Linked DNA regions of Homo sapiens: region 2 is linked to region 1. Evidence: promoter capture Hi-C in human tissues and cell types (Jung and others, 2019). All regions are on one chromosome and are shown on one strand. The core of a region is centred on a gene start or on the middle of the fragment in contact, and the rest is flanking DNA. Distances in the headings are between cores, read along the strand shown. Region 1 holds the start of BIN2 (bridging integrator 2). Region 2 overlaps SCN8A (sodium voltage-gated channel alpha subunit 8).

What was found. Contacts are between HindIII fragments. The study calls those that stand out against the background at their distance.
Region 2: a fragment that was not itself captured here is called in contact with the fragment with the promoter of BIN2 in region 1 in 1 of the 25 tissues and cell types used here (mesendoderm cells).

The regions. Positions count from the first base shown.
Region 1 is chr12:51,322,542-51,325,621 of GRCh38, forward strand. It overlaps BIN2 (bridging integrator 2), which reads right to left and starts at 1,633. Exons shown (of 13, transcript NM_016293.4): 1 at 1,481-1,633. The coding sequence starts at 1,561. LOC105369767 (a long non-coding RNA gene) reads right to left here and starts at 1,467. Exons shown (of 2, transcript XR_944957.3): 1 at 1,187-1,467; 2 at 1-662. RefSeq lists an enhancer at 1,159-1,348 and a silencer at 1,379-1,868. The HindIII fragment of the contact is 13,760 bases long and covers 1-3,080 here.
Region 2 is chr12:51,669,844-51,673,026 of GRCh38, forward strand. All of the region lies in intron 2 of SCN8A (sodium voltage-gated channel alpha subunit 8), which reads left to right. Among named protein-coding and RNA genes, the nearest start is that of SCN8A, 80 kb to the left of the region's middle. The HindIII fragment of the contact is 9,676 bases long and covers 1-3,183 here.

The DNA of each region.
Region 1 (3,080 bases), core at 383-2,882:
CCACTGTGCCTGGCTGGTATGTCTTTTTAAAATTACTATCATTCATGAGTGTTTTGTCTTTTAGGGTTTTTTTTTTTTTCAACCACAGTGTGGCCTTCTCTCCAGTACCTCCTGCTCGCCCACACTGTTTCGAGCTAGACCTTCCCATAGGCCCTGCTCTCGGGTCTACCAGATTTGTAAGTCTTCAGAGAGGCTGAAACTAGGATCAAGGTGAAGTTAGGGTAAGTGAAGTAACGAAGTCTGGCTACACGAACTCTTTCCCTTTTCCTCCTCTCTTTCACATGACCTCAAATGATAGAAAATAACCTCCCTTCCATTGTGGTCTCTTAAAGTCAGGAGCTACATCTACATTCCATCAGTTTTCTGCTGATAAATCAACTCGGGAGAGCTGGTTGCCTTTAAGCCTTCCCAGGGCTCAAAGCAGTGCTCCACTTTTAGAAGATAATAGGGATATTTCAGTTGGTAAGCAGAGCTGTTCATCCAAATGCTTCTAAGTCCATCAGCTCTTAGAAAACCAAAACTTCTCCGTTGTAGAAGGCAGGTTGGGCTTAATAAAGAGAGAGAGAAAAAAAGGAAAACCGAAACTCTATCTCAGGTCCTTCTTGTCTTTCTTCCCTCGCTCTTTCTTCTGGCTGACATGTCTTCCCAAACCGCCTTGTCTACTAGAGGGTTGGTAGGTGGAGAGCAGAGGCTCAGGTTAGAAGCAAAGAAAATATTCTGTACAGGTAGAAACAAAAATGCCATCAAAATGTGTAGAGAATGTCCCCACAATTTAGATTGCCAAGCAAGTAATAGATGGGCAGCCCACCTAAGTGCCAGTGCTGGAGCAGGGCTACCTGACACTAACCAAGGACACACTCTGAACACAGATGTGGTTCATCACCCTGGGAGGTGTACTCCCCAACGCCAAAGGGAGGGTAGAAGAAGCAGATTTGGGCTCCTGCTTACGTCAGCTGAAACACCACCCAGAGGCCAGGCAGGGTCAGGTAGGGGGAGAACTATGCAGGATTATTCTAAGCCTTTGGTGGGGGGTGCCTGCTGGCATCCGCTGCATCGCTGTTTTTGGGGAAATTGCCCTCTATGGAAAATTACCCTCCAATTTCATCATCTGTAAAATACCAATTTTGGATTGCTAGCACAAAATTTGATACAAAGGTGGCCACCACCATCACTTCCTTTCTTTCACCTTTTCTGGGTCAGCCTGAGGGTTGTCGAAGGTTCTGCCCAGAGACTGTTGTCTCCCCAGCTTCCCTTATCCTTGCCCAAGATCGGGTGGCGGTCTCCGACCTCTCTCCAATCTGCCAGTTTTCATGGAAGCCCACTCCTCGCTCCCGTTTCCCTGGGAGAGCGGGAGACCCTTCTCGTCAGCCCAGACCCTTCGGGGCCCCTGAGCACCCTGCCCGCCCCTCCTGCCCGGCCGGGCTCGGCCTCGGCCTCGGCTCCCTGTGGGCCAGACAGACAGCGAGGCCCGGCCACCTACCTTCTCCTGGGCCCTGCTAAACTTCTTCTGCACCTGCTTGGCGAAGAGGCCGGCCGCGCCGCCTGCCTTGCCCTCTGCCATCCTGCCAACTCCCTGGGGGCCGCCGCCCTGGCCCCGCGCCCTGTGGTTTTCTGAGGCCCCCGAGGAGGAAGTGCGGGCTCCCGGCATGCCTCGCATCCGGCCCCAGCCCTGAGCCACCTCAGGCCGCCCCTGGCCAGCCCTGAGGCCCGCCCCTCAGCCCACCACTGTCAGCTGGAGCAGGCCGGCTCGGAGGGGCGGGCCCGGGGCCTACCCTCAGGCAGCGCTCGCTCGAGGCCAGCTTCCGAGCTCCAACCCCTGCCCGAAACCTCGGCCTCACTGAACCAGGTCCTCAGTGGTGGGCCCACACTCACTCGCTCCGGAAAGCCAGTTCCCATCACGCTGAGCACTGCAAAGCAACTGCCACCGCAGGGTAGAAAATGATGTGGGTTCCACTCAGCGAGAGGACCTACCATATCGAAAACACGTTTAGGTTCTCTGAGTATGCATGCGAAGCCGCCATGTACACTGCGTTTCTTGCTCCAGGTAGGCTCTAAGCCTGGAACTGGTAGGGATAGAGTGCAGAAAGCAGGCAGGACACCCGAGCCGGGCTTGAAAGAGAGAAACAGGCCGGGCGCGGTGGCTCACGCCTGTAATCCTAGCACTTTGGGAGGCCGAGGCGGGTGGATCGCCTGAGGTTAGGAGATCAGCCTGACCAATACGGTGAAACCGCGTCGCTACTAAAAATACAAAAATTAGCTGGGTGTGGTGGCGCACGCCTGCAGTCCCAGCTACTCGAGAGGATGACGCAGGAGAATTGTTTGAACCCGGGAGGCAGAGGTTGCAGTGAGCCGAAATCGCGCCACTGCATTCCAGCCTGGGCGACAGAGCGACAGTTCGTCTCAAATAAATAAATAAATAAATAAATAAATAAATAAATAAATGAGGAACAACTAAGCTGGAGATAGAAACAGGGTAGGGGGCTGGTTCTTAGGCAAGAGAATGATCACATTGAAAAAAGGCTGAGGAGGATAGTATGGACGCCCGTGCTGAGCATGAGGAGCAAGTTTTTCTAGTTGGAGTACAGTGTACTGGATGGAGGCAGAATGTGAACACAGACACAGATTGTGCAAATTGGGGTGCGGCTGTTGAGATGACAACTATTGTTTCTTTAGGGAGAAGTTCTCCAAAAAATTCCTCCCTGACCTGTTTGAGGGGATAGCTTGAGATTAGGACACTAGGTGTGGAGGAACCACGTACTCAGATTTTACAGTGCAGGTTAAAATTTCCTCAAGGCAGGGAAGAAGGTCAAAATAACACTTCCTAAGGAGTGGAGGGGGAAGATAGGGCCTGACACAAAATTAGAGGCCCTTGTATGCTACTGTGTTCCTCTTCTTTCTCCAAAACAATCATTACTGCACTCAAGGTCAACTGTGTACCAGGCATTGCTGGGTGTTCTGAAACAAGGATGAATAAAATGCAGTCCCTGACCTTAAGATGCTTAATGAAGTCTGGCCGGGCACCACGGCTCACACCTGTAATCCCAACACTTTAGGAGGCTGAGGCAGGCAGATTGCTTGAG
Region 2 (3,183 bases), core at 411-2,910, 350 kb after region 1:
ACTGTGCTGACACACTTTCAACAGGTGTGCAGCACAGAGACCATTACGGAAGGATTTATGTTCATTAGGTGTGATTTGAAGTATTGCTAATAAGTTGTATTTCCTGCTTTTGCACAATAAGCCTAAATGCTGCTTTCTGTTTTAAATAAAAACTACATATTTTAAAACTTTGGTTTATTTTGTTGTTAAAAATTTTTTCCCAACAATATAAGGAAACAAAATGATGTTTCAGTTATTTTATTTACCAAATCAAATTGAGATAAATGCTTTGAGACACTGGGAGGTGGGCCCTTCTCAAGGGGATGGGTCATTGATGGGCACGTATGGTCTTGTCCCCTCTCTAAGTATGGCTACCTAGAGGAGAAGGAATTTAATTAAGCATTCCTAAATCAGATTTCTCTTTTGTAGCCTTGGCAATAGACCAAAAGTTGGGAAATCTTATTTCTGATCCCATCCCTGTGTAATTCCAGGTGATCTTGGGCATGCTATTTAACCATTTAAGGTCTCAATTCCTCCAATCTAGAAAATTAAGATTATGCTAACAGCTAACATGTCACTTATTACAGGTTGCAGTATAGACCATTTCTGTAAGAAAAATCCAGGTCATCTAATTTGATTGGAATGTGGGGAAGTGACTGAGGAACAGTGGAAGATGAGGCTGGGGAGGGTGAGCTGGAGCAAATCCTGGAGGGCTTAGAATGTTAGACTCAGAGGTGTGGTGTTTGTTTGAGAAGCAGTAGAGAACTACTGAAGGTTCTGGAATGGGAGTAAGGATACGTGATGATAGCTGTGCTTAGAGAGGTGAATGGGACGACAATATGTAAGCTGGGCCAGAAGGAAAGAGAACTGAAACAGGCAGATCAGCTATGAAATAATGAAGGTCTGAGTTACAGTGGTGGGAGTGGAAATTAAGGGGATTGGATGAATTCAATATGATTTATGATAGATTATGGAGGGTTAAGGAAGGAATCGAGCATGCAATTATTCATTTGACAATTTGATAAATTGTTACTGAGTGTTTTCTATATGCCGGGGCTCTGTTCCGTGCCCTTGGGAACAAAACAGACAAGCCATATACATTGTTGGAACTTAGTTTTTTTGTTAGGGAAACACATAACAAACAAATACGGAAATAAAATTATTACTGATAATGATACGTGCATTAATGAAGATAACATGTTCCAGCTACTTTAGAGGCTTATGGTGCTCTAATTTGGTACAGAGACTAAACTTGGAGAATCCAGAAGAATCAAAGATTATATGGTCTCTCAAATATTCAGTATCTTAAATAGGACTTCAGCAAGTACTAAATTATAATCTTTAAAAGAGCCAATTTTGAGAGCATTTGCCCCTCTTGGATTTTTACACAGACAGAAATAAAATATACTTGAGCATCAGTGTGAGCTATTGGGGTGCTTACAAAGAAACCCAGCATTTTCTCCAGGTTTAACTCGGGTTAGATATGGAGGGTACCTGTGTTCCCAATAATGTTTGCAATTTTCTCCAGTCCTAAGTTCTCATGCAGGTACTAAGCTGTGATTCCATAGTTCTGAGCCACATAGGGTATAGACATAGACAGCTTTTACCTGAATTCTAGGATGTGTGTTATTAGCCAGTCACCTCAGCCATAAAATTCCACTGATTGGTAATTTTAGGAATTAGTTTCTGTTGGTTTCTCCAGGGTGTGATTTGTGCAATCTTATCATAACAAAAATTTACCTGTGGAATGGGACTATTTAATAATGGCCATTTAAATGTTAAAGAATGTTTCAAGATTATGATAATATCGATCATCTCTGACAATAATTAAACATATTTTAAGTGCTTTCTTAGTTAAGGAGAGAAAACTGTGTTATTATTTTACAGAGGGATGCTTCTCTTTTGAATTGTTTCCAAATTGACAAATGAGTTGTAAATGTTTCTTTACATATAACACTATTTGACACAACTTAAGATCAGGATTGTCCCATCATATGACAATTTCTGCTAACTCTGATTTTACCAGAAGAATTTTTGATACAAGCTCTGAAGATGCATTTCTATTCCAGACACTGTTGAGCCTGCAAAGTTTGGCCTATGGAACCAAGTTGGAATAAAAGATTCTGCTGATTTCAGAGAATAGGGTGCCCCATCTACTGTTCAAGACCAATCCCTCACCCCTGTCTTTGACCCTGTGCCTTTCTACCTCCTCTGGAATTTCACTCCTTTGGTTACCCTTTCTCTTTTCTGTATTTTCCGTCTTTCCTCTCATATAGGTTCCTTTCCCATAGTCTGTAAACACACTCAAAGCCTCTCCCATCCTAATGAATCCTCACTTGACCTCCTGTCCCCAGGTAGTCTAATTGCTTCCCATGCCACTGAAAATTGTAAAGAGGAGGGTTTACTCACCACATACACATATCTACCCACTCCTCCATCCTTGAAGCCTGACTGCATCCTCACCCCTTTCATGATATTATAAGATCTTCCCAATAACATCTCAAATGGCCAAGTCTAAGATTTTTTTTAAGTTCTTAACTCACTAAACCTCTCTGCAGTGTTTGACACCATTTATTATTCCCTGACTCTTATATCTCTTTACTTCCTTGGCCTAATTTTCTTTTTATCTCAAATGTTTCCTTCTCTTTCATGTTCTCAACCTTTCCCTAAAATGTTTATATTCCCCCAGATTCAGTTCTTGGCCCATGTTCCTCTCAGTTGGCACATTCTCCCTGGATGATCTCATCCAGCCTCAGTTCGAGGACTCCTGACTCTAGCCTAGCCTAGAATGTTCCTTAAATATTCAACACCTTGCCAGTCATCTGTTTCTGGATTTTCCCACAGGTTACTCAGTATATTCAGAATTGAACTCATTTTCTTCCCCTCAAACCTGCTTATCTTCTTTTATCTACTTTCCTAGTTGATGGCACCAGCAAAATTCTAGATATCATTTTTGACTCCCCAATTTTCTTCAGTCCCTGAGGATTGCCAGTACTAGGGATATCTCAGTATAATGATGCACGCTTTCACAAGTATGAAACAGTTGTGGCTCCAGAAACATTAACTTGCTTCCTCAAGTTCCCTCAACTAATATGTGGTAGAGTCAGGTTTCTGTTCCAGGGATCTGTGAATTTCACCTTCATGGTCTTTCTTCCATGCCCTGCTGTCTATATAGAGCATATTGCAGGATGATTTTTTTGGTTT